Linked DNA regions of Homo sapiens: region 2 is linked to region 1. The links are contacts of gene promoters, found by promoter capture Hi-C in blood cells and fetal thymus (Javierre and others, 2016). All regions are on one chromosome and are shown on one strand. The core of a region is centred on a gene start or on the middle of the fragment in contact, and the rest is flanking DNA. Distances in the headings are between cores, read along the strand shown. Region 1 holds the start of RNF138 (ring finger protein 138). Region 2 overlaps MEX3C (mex-3 RNA binding family member C).

Region 1 (6,550 bases), core at 429-2,928:
AGATCATTCCACTGCACCCCAGCCTGGGTGACAGAGTGAGATTCTGTCTCAAAAGAAAAAAGAAAAAAAGTGAGTTTTCTTCTCTGGGCTGTTAAAAATTTGAACTCAAAGAACCATTTTATAAGTGAATGTGAAAAGCACCTGAACTACTGCTATTAGCTGCCCCTCTCGTCACGTGCTCTTCCTCCTTCCAGGAAATCTGAAGCTAGTATTAGCTTTCTTGTCTTGCTTCCACTGCGCTTGCTGCTAAGGAGGAAAAGCAACAAAAATACAAAATATAGTTTGGTAGAGGGAATTAGCTATTCATTGGACAAATTATTATTATTCTAGGAATCAATGCTTTTGAGATGTACATTAAAACCCATTTCCTCCATAAAGTTTTCTGTTAACTCTATATATTTCTAATCATTCCATTTCCTATCCTCATTATAGCCATCGTTTAATGCAAAATTTAATACTTTGGCAAATACCATTTTTTCTCTCTCATTCTGATAGATATGTAATAATGTAAACAGGTTGAGAGCAAAGTTCATGACATCTGCATAACACCTAACAATGCCAATGTCAACATAGACAATAAATGGCAGAATTGATTTAAATAGTCCCTTAAATGGCTTCTGTTTATTCATTTAGACCATGGGGGAGGGTTTTAACAAAGGATGGTAATAAAACCTTTCTTTTCTCTGAAGCTAATTGTAGATGCTGTATAATGTTCCAGATTTTCCTTAGCTTCTTTCACGTCATTGTGGATCCCATCTTATCGATTTATCCTTTTTTTGTTCTTCTTTTTTTTTGAGAGTCTCACTCTGTCGCCAGGGCTGGAGTGCAGCGGCGCGATCGCGGCTCACTGCAACCTCTGCCTCCCGGGTACAAGCGATTCTCGTGCCTCAGCCTCCCGAGTACCTGGGATTACAGGCTCCCACCACCATGTCCGGTTAATTTTTGTATTTTTAGTAGAGATGGGATTTCATCACGTTGGCCAGGCTGGTCTTGAACTCCTGACCTCAAGTGATCCAACCGCCTTCGCTTACCAAAGGGCTGGGATTACAGGTGTGAGCCACCGCGCCCGGCCTTTTTTCTTTCTTTTTTTTTTTTTTTTTTGAGACGGAATCTCACTCTGTTACGCAGGTTGGACCATCTTATAGATTATCAATTGTACAGATAATTGCACTCCGGCCTGGGAGACAGAGTGAGTACCTGTCTCAAAAAATAAAATAAAATAAAATAAAATTAAAAAAAACACTTAAATTAGTGAATAACCTTGGTGAAAAGCCACGTCCATGCTTCTACGGCATTTCTCTTCAAAGCTAAAAAAAAAAAGAAAAAATCAAAAATCAACCCAAAGGTGTAGTAGAAGACTGCATCTGCGACCGTATTTAAGCATCGGTCATGCTGTTAAAGGAGAAAGTGGACATCCTCTCAAGGAAACTTTAATCCTGCCCCCAAAGGATTAAAATCCCGTAACAAATATTTGTTTATAACACATCTTGACAAGATCAAAACATTCTGGTAGGGCAAATAGTAAAGACTAAATCTTGAACATTGACGAAAACTTCCTGAAAGGCCCAATGTATTTGACAGGAGAGGTAACTGGGGTCCCGGGCCTAGCGAGGCGGGGCGGGGAGGCGCAGGTGTCACCGCGGGCGCCCAGCTGCTTACGTCACAACCCGCGGAAGGCGCCGTGCGCCGGTTGCTATACAGGCCGCACTTCACACCCCGTGCCTCCCCGCCTCTCCTGGCTCCTCCGCCCAGATCCCCGGCGCTCCCGCGTTCGGTGACGGCCGGGTAGGCTGTAGGCAGCGCAATGCCAAGACAGAGCTGCTGGCGGCGGCGGGCGAATCTCCCTGCACCATGAGCCTCGGCTCCGGCCCCGTTAGGGGCCGATAAGCACAGCGCACGCCGCCCTCCATTTGCCCCGGGGCCTCGGCTGCGAAGATAGCGGCGGCCGGACAGGAAGCTCGAGGAAAGCGCTGGGCCGGGTCTCTACGAACACGTGAAGGAAAAGCAGCTCCGTCCACAACGCCGCTTCGGGGCTCCTAGGTGAGAGTCTCCCCGGCGGAAGCGTGGAGGGGCCGGGGTGCCGGGAAGCGGGGCGGGGAGGAAGCCGCGGACACGGGCTGGGCACTCGGGGCTCGGGGTCGGGGTGAGTAGAGGCGGAAAAGCAGTGAAAAGGGAGGCCTTGGGCGAAGACGGGGGCTGAGGGCGGGGCGCGAGCCCGCGCCTGGAGCCCGGTGAGGGCGTGGCCTAGAGCGTGAGGCCGCGTCCTGGGGCGGGGTGAGGGGCGAGCGGGGCGGGCCCACGGCATGCTGCGAGCCCAGCCTCCCGCCAAGCACCGTCCCCCATCCAGCCCCCTGTGGGAGGAGCCGTGGGAGGGGTCGCCTCTTGCCCGGCGCGTGCGGCAGTAGCGTCTCTGCGTTCGGCCCCGCCCTACCCAGGGCCCCGCCCCCTTCCTGGCGCGCGCTGTATCCTGATGCGATCCCCCTCCCCCCTCCGGGTTCATGTAGGGAGTCGGGCCCCGGGCCGCCACCGTCACCTCGGCCGCTGCCGCTGTCGCCATCGCCTTGTTTCCCCATCCCCCGCCATGGCCGAGGACCTCTCTGCGGCCACGTCCTACACCGAAGATGATTTCTACTGCCCCGTCTGTCAGGAGGTGCTCAAAACGCCCGTGCGGACCACGGCCTGTCAGCACGTGTGAGTAGACGCCCCCTCCCCCTCGCGGAGCCGGGTTGTCGCTTAGGCCCGGCCTCCGGCCCGGGACCCCGGGCTGCCGCCTGGCGGGAACCGAGCCCGCCGCGGCCTGCCCGAGCGTCGCTGCCCCGCGAGGTCCCGTTCCCCGCCCCTCAGAGTCCCGGGGCGGCCTTTTCCTCAGCCTCGGGGCCCGCTCCCCGCGTCCAGCCCCCTCAGCCCAAGCTCCCGCTCTCCCGCTCTCCCGCTCTCCCGCTCTCCCGCTCTCCCTGGCTTTCGCGCCCCCGGGGCAGTGGCCAGGCCGTTCCCTGCGGCGTCTTCAGGCCCCGGAGGCCCCTGTCGTCTCCGCCAGGCCCGGGAGGAATTGCAGGGATCTTGGAGCCTTTTTGTTTCTTAGCAACCCGGGTGAAGGCTGGGGTGTCGAGTGTCAAAAGCGGCCGGCGGTGCTCGCGCGGGCCCGCTCGCCCCGCGACCTGCCCTGCTTTCAAGTTTCCTCTTTCAGAACCTTGGTCCGTCCCCTCGGTCCAAGAGCTCTTCTGTAACTTCCCCTCAACCCTGCTTCACAGAACACCCTCGAGAGCGTTTTGTTTCGTTTCCAGTCCACTATGTGTTAGAGGGATCTAGAATGAGTTTTCTTCTCTGGTCTCTTAAAACTGACAGGATTTTCGGGCATTGAAATGAGCGTTCCCCTTTGTTTTACCTTTCTGCTTACTTATTACTTGATTAATACAAGGGTGGAGAGGAGAAAGGAAGACTTCTGTTATGAGGAATGAGCCGAAATTGAGATGCTACCCAGGGTGGGGGAGAACACAAAGGGGTTGGGTGAGATAACGCATGCGTTTGATTGGCAGGCATATTTACAAGAACTTTGATAAAATTTTATGGACAGCTAGGGTGTGAGTAAGGGTTGGAAAGAGCCCTTGTTGAGAAGGTGTATAGCCCTTCTGACAGACCTGACTGATGATCAGAGTCCCCGGGGAACTTTTTAAGTAAACATACCAATTCCCAGGCTCCATTTCAAACTTAACAAAAGAATGTTCGGGCAGGTGGGGCCTGGAAATCTTTATTTATTTATTTATTGTATTTTTTTTTAGTAGAGACGGGGTTTCACCGTGTTAGCAAGGATGGTCTCGATCTCCTGACCTCGTGATCCTCCCGCCTCGGCCTCCCAAAGTGCTGGGATTAAAGGCGTGAGCCACCGCGCCCCGCCCGGAAATCTTTATTTTTAAAAAACACACTCAGGCTTGAAAGTTACGTGTGTTTGCAAACAACTGAAAAGAATTGACCAACCTTCTAAATGTATTTCATTCTCCTTCGACTTTTTTTTCTTTTTTTTTTGAGGTGAGGTTCTATAATTTTGTAAAGGATGGATTGAATTTTTGGTTCTTAATTGCAAATGCCCTTACTGTGGCTGTTTTCTTGATACCAACTCTTCTCATTTTTTCCCCAATCTTAACTGCACTGTCTACTTTATTTCTATTTTGTGCTGGTTGTGTGAGCCAAGAGTGTGTGGATTTTCATGATAGAAATTATGCCAGTTACGCTTTTGCTCTTTAAGGGAGATGAATGACATCTTGTTATTTTGTGCAACAAATGCAGATTCTTAGGGAAATGTTTTGAGGGATCCTTTTGCGGTTCATAGTGTGATGATTGAGTGTTCACAGGCATGTGTGAGATATGCCATCCTCAAACCTTGTTACAGGGTCAGCACATTACCCATCTGACATGAAAAAAAAAACGTTTGGAGGTGTCTAGGGCACAATATAGATCTTCCACCTTTAATCTAGCATAACTTGGTCCCTTTCCAATATTTAAAAAAAATTTAAGTGCTGTGTTGGCATTGGGTAGATAAAAGGGAGGGAGGAGAGCAAGGTGAGAGGAAGTTGTAATAGCTGCTAACTATATATATATATATAAAGCAGGTCTTTTTTGGATAGAATCATTCTAATTATCCTTTGGGTCATTGACCTAATGGGCCTCATTGTAGTTTTTAGCACTCCCCAAAATTCCGTGTAGATTGCTCTAGTCCGCTTCCCTTGTGGGACATTTTAAATCAAGGTTTATAATTTGATTTGACCTCAAGACTGTGGAAAATGTTGGAGATGATTGTTTTTAATTCAGGACCTTTCTCAAATCAACTTATTGTACGTAGACAGTTCTGCCTGAACAATGAATTAAAAGAATAGGCAGAGGGAGAAAAAAAGTTTAATTTGGAAGAGGTGGTAATGGAGGAACAGGATTTTAATCAGTTGGAAGGAGTTTAGTGGGGGAATTGGAGAGAAATTTTAAAAATTATCGTTTTTTTTTGAGACATGGTCTTATTCTGTTGTCCAGGGTGGAGTGCAGTGGTGTGATCATGTTTCATTGCAGCCTTGACCTCCCCCGTTGGAGCAACCCTCCCGCCTCAGCCTCTCAAGTTGCTGGGACTACAGGAGCATGCCTCCATGCCTGACTAATTTTGTTTTCTTTTTTATAGAGACAGGGCCTCACTACGTTGCCCAGTCAGATCTTGAACTCCTGGGCTGAAGTCATCCTCCTGTCTTGGCCTCCAAAAGTGCTGGGATGACAGGCGTGAGGCATGGCACCTGACCTGTTTTTTAATTAACATAGTTATCTATGTCATTTGCTCTACCTTCTTCACAAAGGACAGACCTATGCCTTTAAAGAAATTTATATTTGGCTGCAAAATCAATTTTTGATTCACGAATAGAGAGTTGAAGTGATAAGGGCTTTGGGTTACTGTGGATCAGTTAGAAAATGAAAAATTTTAATTGCCATTTCAATGACAGGAAAGGATTTGACTACTGACTATCCTAGTAAAAGGAGCAAGTTCATTATCATTAGAATAACATTACTAAAATATAAACTCCCGTTTAATCCCCATTCATTCCCTGAAACTGCAGTTGTTGAATGCTCTTTGTCTGGTGCAGGGACTACTAAGTACTGTTTCTCTGGAGACTTAATAGTCCGCTGGAGAGACCTATAAATGAGTGTGATTGATATAGAAGAGATTTTATGTGAGCATCTAGAGCAGGTATCTAAATTAGCCTAAAGGATAGGGATAATTTCCTAGATGAAGTAATGCCTTAGGTCAGCGTTTGTATTCAGTGTTTGTGGGGAATGCCAGAGTCAAGGAGGGTACAGAGGATGAATGTGAGCTGGACTTTGAAGTTTGGCTGGAGCCAAAGACAGCGTAGTGGAGATGGAGCTTAGCGTTATTGGCAGGAACTTACTGTGTAAGCTAATTTGAGTGTTTTCCTGAAAACCTATTAAATAATTAGATAACCTAATGAATAATACTAGACCTAGTAAATAATTTTTGGCAGGGGAGCAGCGTGGTCACATTTCATTTTTAGAAAGTTTACCTTCATAGCAGGGTTTTCAGCTTGGTAGTGGTGAGACTAGTGAAGAGGTCGGTCATTCATTGATGTGTCAGGGAGAGAAATGATTAGAACCTGAACTAAGGAAATGATAGTAGGAATGGAGCAGAGAGACTCCTGACATTTTAAGGACAGTGTAAGATTTGATGACTGGGTTCAGTAGTTAAGTGTGTATACCATATGTAGATCTGGAATACATGGAGCTAAAGCTGTGGGTGTCGAAGTGGTCACCGAGTGAGGTATATAAATGGAAAGATTGAAGAGCACCTAGATAGAGCCAAGTGTTGGAGAATACTTACTTAAATATCGAGTGGAGAAAATTGCAGCCAGACAAGGAACGAACAGAAGGATAGGAAGAAAACCAGGAATAAAGTGAGAGTGGAAACTGAGGATTCAGATCATCTGCAAATGATTGTTAAGGAAGCAGTCAGCATTTTCAGAGGCCTTAGAGTGGTCAGATGTAATTTTGTTTTTGTTTTTGTTTT
Region 2 (6,294 bases), core at 1,820-4,319, about 19 Mb after region 1:
TGGAGATTTAAACATAACTATCCATGATCTACTTGGAGCTTCTTAAAAAGCTTTTTTTATTTTTAAGTGCAAATACACTCCTTTAGTATCTTATGAACATTATCTACTTTCTCATCTTGAGTTTGGTTACAAATTCTACATGGCAGGAATGACACTGTTTAGAATTCTATAACAATCCTATAAATTATAAAATAGTACTGTAGTAGTCATCATGGCTCTCCTTGTGGGCACATAGTTGTCATATACTTTCTCAGCCTTTTGAAGTTAGGTGTGGCCAGATGATTTGCTTTAATGAAATATGAGCAGATGTGATAAGCATTACTTCCGGATCTAACATTTTAAGACCAGTATGTGCTATGCTGTAGTCTTTCATCTTCTGGCACAACAGAAGATCAGTAACACTGGAGATGGTGGCTGCTGTTGGCCTGTGTCCCTGAATGACTAAAATGAGCAGAGCCCCTATGAACAAGAAATAAACCATAGTTGTTTTAACACTGAGGTGTCAGAGTTCTTTGTTAACCACAGCATAACAAGCCCATCTTGACAGAAGTGCCAAGTATCTAAAAGGCATTCAGATATCCGTTGGTTCTAGTTCTATTACATTGGAAGAATATAATGAGTCAAACTATCTGCTAAAGCCAAAAAAGGTGGACATGATTAAACGGTGGTTCCAAATTAATTTCAGATTTACCTTAACAAAAGTAATGTGCTTAGCACTTACAGTTTCATATATGTCGATTTCTTTATCTTCCAGAGTCTCTACAGGAATTGTAGATATGATTATGCCCAGGTGCAAAAGAGGAATCTGAAGCCTAGGGAGTTTAAGTGACTTGTTCAAGATTACACAGTGAGTTATTGGCACAGGAATATCTATTTCTGATTTGGTTCTTTCCAATATACCACAGCTGAACAGAGACTGTCACAGGCAGTTTGGTGTAGCTACAATAGGTATTTTTACATATTGTATAAGCTACGATATTAAAATACACATACTAAAACATTTTTATGTTTAAGGCAAAAGTATTCAAAACCAAATCAGCAATATATTAAGCATTCCCTTATAACTAAATGCTACCTTTCCTTAAAAACTTACGCTGTAAAGAACCACCTAGAATTCCAACCTATAAACATTGTTTGAAAATTTTCTAGATAGAAATCTCTAACAGACTAACACAAATACTTGGTTCCCTGGATCATTTTCAGGTTGTTGGTAACCAAGGGGTACAAAATACACCCTTGAATTACCACTTCATTTCCCATTTCCTCCCTAGTGAATCAGAATAGTTCATTAGCTGAATAAGGCAGGAAGAAAGGCAGTAGATTCCCCACCCATTTGCAAAAACAATTACAGTAACTGAACCCTTCTCAAGGGTCCCAGAACTAATACAAACCATTATTAACGAAATTTAAATTTTAAAGCCTAGAAAAATTGTAATATTTAATTTTTAAAGCTAGTGTCTATATATATACGCAAATTAACTTTCTGTACTACAAATGACAGTAAATTTTTAGCTGGACACATTAGAACTATATTACAATTAAAACTGTGCCTTGTGGGTAGTACAGACACCAAAATTTTATCAAGTAAACTAATTTGGATAGTGGTATTTTAAATTATGCATATTAGAAATTCAGTATCCTACGATTAGGGCACAAGTTAATCCAAAATACTAACCTTCCAGAGCAGAATGCTTCAATACTGAAGTGGCAATGTAGAGTACAAAGAATTTTATTTCTGATGTCAAACTATGCTAAATCCAATCTCAACTATTTGAGCAAGTTAGCTCTCAGAACCTCTGTTTCTACCTCTCTAAACGGCAGTAACCACCTAGCAGGGTTAAACGGCACTGGTGAAGCACCTAACATAGTACTAAGCAAAGAGAAGTCCAACAATGCACCCTCATCCCCATAAAAGAAAAAGACACTGTGCTGTAGCATCATTCTGAAACTATTTATTCTCATGAAATATGTACTTCTCCTTGAAGAGAAAATTTATGTACAGCAAGACCAAGCTTTCTCTTTTTCTCCTGGTCACAGACGTATAAACCCTATTTCAGTTGTGTTAGAGCTTGAAGGGTGGTTCCACCCTAAGAAATTGGGAAGACAAATTGAAACAGTGTAAAGTATTAATTGTTAATAAAGAATTTTGTTTTATAATGTGTAATATATTAAGCACACTTACTATTCATACATAAATATCCAGATATTGGGAGTATGCACATTTTTTTTGGACAGGGTGTACAATAAAAAGAAGCTAGAGACGACTTTTCTAGACTATGTGGCTAGAGAACACACATAGACCATTAATTAAAGTCTAATGAAAGATACACATTTATCCTAATAGTAATACAAAATCTTGGGTTACAAGTCTCTAAACAACTGAATTTATGACATTTAGTATTAATTTATAATGTATTAAGAATGGGTATACAGTTCTATTTTAATTCACTTTTTAGTCTAAATGGATATAAATGACTGTACAAATTGGAACAAAACCTGCTGACTAAAATTAGACCTGTTAATCACTGTTAATATGTCTTGCAGGTACTATACTTAAAAACAGAGACGTTCTAAGTTTATAAAATTAGGTCTTAAAATCTGTTGTCAGGTTTATTTTTGATGTCCATATTCTAAAACTTCTTTGATTATATCAACAAGCCTCTTCAGTTCCTGGCTTTATTTTACAGTATTGTTGTTTCACAACAGATGCAATGCTTTAAAAAACAAGGCCAATTTAACATTTACAAATGACCATATGCTACTGGGGAGTATAAATTCGAGGTCAAACACTCTGCCAACTTTCATCAGTATCAAAAGCGGTAGTTTGTGTTTTAGAAAAACACTGGAACTCAGAGGCCATCTACATGAGTTGCTAGTCTATGTGACTCAGAATTCCATTTGTCCTGCTCTTTGCTTCAGAGCTGAAGTCATAAATGTCTCCATCTGTGACATAATTATTTCCAAAATCAATTAAGAGATGTCAAATAGAAAATTATGGCTTCAGGTAATACATAAAATGGCAGAAATGGATAATTTAATCTTAAGGATGAAAGTTTAGCTCCTTCAAAGCAAACAAGAAAATGAAATGATTTGCCCTGTTTTACTTACTTAGGACAGATTCTCTCCCGTGGGGAAATATAATACTGTAAAAGAATGTGAACATTAGAAGTCACTTCGTTCTCCATACGAGTGAGCAAACACTTTACAGGTTTATTACTATGCTGCTGGGACATGGGGGTGGCAAAGGGGTCAATGATCCACAAGTTGTATGGTTCAGAACAGCAAAAGGACCAGATTTTCTGCTTTTAAGATAGAGGATGATGACATACTTTTAACAGTATTGTCAACTCTGGGAAAATACAAGGTTTAAATGGAAGAGCCAGCAATTTGTCTCCATGATCTAAGACATAATTAAATTCAACATTTCCTTATTAACCAAATAAACACAGCCCTCAAAAGAAAAACTAAGGCTTTATCTCATTTCCTATCACGTAATAGCTGGTACAAAATAAAAACTTGGAATTCACTTTACTTTTAAAAAACTGATTTCTATAAAGATTAACAACATACACAAGTAAGGGCCATTTAGCAGTGCTTTAAGGGGTGTCTACTATAATGAAGGACTAAAGTTTGTATTAAACTAAATCTATAAAATATGTTATCTTGTCCTTCAGTAAAACTGGCACGTAAATGTTTTCTTCCTTTGTTACCCTAGACTGTTACCATAAGCACACGGAAGCAACTTGTCCTGAGAAGTGGCATCTTCATATGGCATTCAGGCTTCTTCACATTCTGGTGTGAACGCCTGCCTTCCCCCTTTTCCACCACTCCCCTTTACAGACCTCAAGTATCAAAACAACACTACTTGGCAATTATACCTAGGCTAGTCCTCCACACCCCTCCTCACATTGTTCCTCCACAGTTTTTCAATCTCCATTTGTTAGACTCCTTCCTACCCATTTTCCAAGGCCCTCTCCATAGATGTTCTCTTACCTGAGACTTTGTCATACTAAATACACTATAGTTAGTGCCATTCTACTGTTTATTAGACTGTTATCTTCTTAAGGGCAGAAAGTCTGAATTAACTTCACATTCTCAATACCACAAACTCAAAACCTGGCAAAATACAAGCTTGGTACATAGCGATTCCTCAGTGTTCTTACATGAATGGTCAACTCATTCTGATCCAAATTGAGATGTTGTAATTTTATCCCATGTAAACAAAAGTTTTCTCCTGGATTATTACTCTAAGTATCGCCAAAACCAAACAATCCAGGAATCTGAAACTCATTAACCAGAAGAACGACAAGCATAAGCTACCTTTCAATTGAAAGGTCCAGCTTTGAACAGTGTCTGTAAGTGCCAATCATCAGGCAGTCTGAACTAAGCTATCTCCTTTATCCAGATTTCAGATGAGTTTTTATTAAAATCCTACAGATAGGAAAGAAATAAGCCAAGTCTGATATGTGAAACCACCATTTCGACAGAGCTCTTATTTATGTGTACTTTAGACCACCTGGGAAAGATGAGATCATTTAAGCGGCAGCGCCATCATCTCTCTTTATTTGACCCCAACAATGCTCTCAACCTAACAGTAAAGAGGCATGCAACAACCAGGCTAAACCACATTGTCATGCGGTGGCAGCAGGTAACATCTGCCCCTTTCATAAAGGGGAAATGCTACCATAAAGAACTTAGGACCTTCCCTAAAAATGTCGGATACAGAGGTACCCCAGGCATCCCCTTCCCCCACCTTCACAAATCTACTCCTGGAATCTGAGACACAGGTCCTTTGTCTGAACAATGTGGGAGGAGTCTGTCTGCAGTACTGGTGTGCTGGCAAGTGAAGAGGAGAATTAACTGAAAACTGTATAAACCGATGAAGTTTCTTAATTACCTTAGTGTCCATTTTTTCTTCATCCTGCACACTGAACAGTTTTAAAAGACAGCCAGTGTGTCAGTGTGTCTTTCCGAGAGTTGAAACGTACCGAGAGAAATACAGTTAAGATAGGCGGCAGTGAGTTGGGCTGCTTTTCCAAAGCTAAGTTTCTCAACAGCGGAGGGGCAGGGGATGGCGGTGATACCGACCATTTGAACACCCCTTCCCTCCCCAGTGAGCTCTGTCTACAGGCCTCCATTTCTGTTCTTTTCTCCATCTGAACAAGTTCTTGTAAGGGAGGCTGAACGCTTTTAGAAGACACTCGGCGGCGCAAACTTGCAATCTCGAAGCTTTCCGTACCCAACAGCGAACCCACAACTCCTCGAGCCCGACCTTTTACCACCTCACTGAGGTTTCTGGTGCCACGCCAGCCTGGTGTTCCACGAATACAGCCCAAGTAACGTGAACACCACCGGACTGGGTCGCCCGAGAAACTTCACACTTTTTACCAGGCAAGACGGGCGGAAAAGCGTGGGTTTTCGCAAGGTGACCCATCTTCACATCTGGTCGACCCTCGGCTCCTCCCAGACCCCTTCGCGGTGGACTTGGGGGCCTCGCCGGGTTCGCCTTTTCCGTCCCACGCTCCTTTCTCTCGTCTCCCCACCCACGCCCGGGGCCATGCCCAGCTGGACCTCCCCACCCCTGCACTCACCCTGGCGGCCGACGATCTCGGCGACGTGCTCGGAGCTGGGCACCGGGACGCACTCGGTGGTGTTGACGCTCTTTCTCCGGAGCAGGGCCGCCTGCTCCCCGTTCAGGGCGGCCGCCGCCGCCCCACAACCGCCGGGGCCGTAGGCGTGGGACAGCATCGCCGCCATCATGCCCTGGGCATCGTCCCCTCCGTACAGCACCCCCGCCGCCGCCGCCGCGGCCGCCGCCTCCCGGGCATCGAACCTGGCGGCTGGCAGCAGCACAGACCCCAGGGACCCGCCCGGGATCTGCTGGGTCTGAGAGGCGGTGGCCGCGGGCGGCGACAGCAGCAGCAGCGACGACCGGTCCTCCTCCTCTGCTTCCTCCAGCTCCTCCTCCTCCAGCAGGTCTCCGTCCAGCTCCGCTTCCTCCCCCTCCTCCTCGTCCTCTTCCAGCTCCAGCTCGGCCGCCTCCGGGGCCCCGGGCCGGCCGGGCGGAGCCCGCTCCTCTGGAGACAGCTCCGCCGCCCGCCGGGCCTGGCCCTGCGCCGCCGCTGCCGGGGCCCGAAGCGCCGGGGCGCCGGGCTCCGCCGGGCTGGGGTCGTCGAGGCCTAGCGCGGCCAAGCGCTCCCTCAGCAGGAGCCCGTCCCCCTCGAGCTCCGGGCCGCCCGAGGGCGGCGGCAGAGGCGGCGGTGGCGGCGGCGGCGGCGGGGGCGGCTGCGGCAG

Evidence for each region. The method cuts DNA at HindIII sites, captures the fragments that hold promoters and counts their contacts. A CHiCAGO score of 5 or more calls a contact.
Region 2: a contact is called between a fragment that was not itself captured here and the fragment with the promoter of RNF138 in region 1, in 1 of 17 cell types (total CD4 T cells). The highest score is 6.2, in total CD4 T cells.

The regions. Positions count from the first base shown.
Region 1 is chr18:32,090,196-32,096,745 of GRCh38, forward strand. It overlaps RNF138 (ring finger protein 138), which reads left to right and starts at 1,679. Exons shown (of 8, transcript NM_016271.5): 1 at 1,679-2,040; 2 at 2,505-2,691. The coding sequence starts at 2,582. It overlaps LOC124904278 (a long non-coding RNA gene), which reads right to left and starts at 1,750. Exons shown (of 2, transcript XR_007066327.1): 1 at 1,660-1,750; 2 at 1,080-1,307. LOC124904366 (small nucleolar RNA U13) reads left to right here and starts at 4,309; the gene lies at 4,309-4,411. It also overlaps a transcript of RNF125 not described here. RefSeq lists an enhancer at 1,378-1,427 and a silencer at 2,098-2,517. The HindIII fragment of the contact is 10,157 bases long and covers 1-6,550 here.
Region 2 is chr18:51,190,976-51,197,269 of GRCh38, forward strand. It overlaps MEX3C (mex-3 RNA binding family member C), which reads right to left. Exons shown (of 2, transcript NM_016626.5): 1 at 5,592-6,294. Among named protein-coding and RNA genes, the nearest start is that of MEX3C, 3.6 kb to the right of the region's middle. RefSeq lists silencers at 3,724-4,018, 5,670-5,719, 5,740-5,789, 6,050-6,129, 6,270-6,294 and enhancers at 4,710-5,331, 4,960-5,009. The HindIII fragment of the contact is 2,119 bases long and covers 2,011-4,129 here.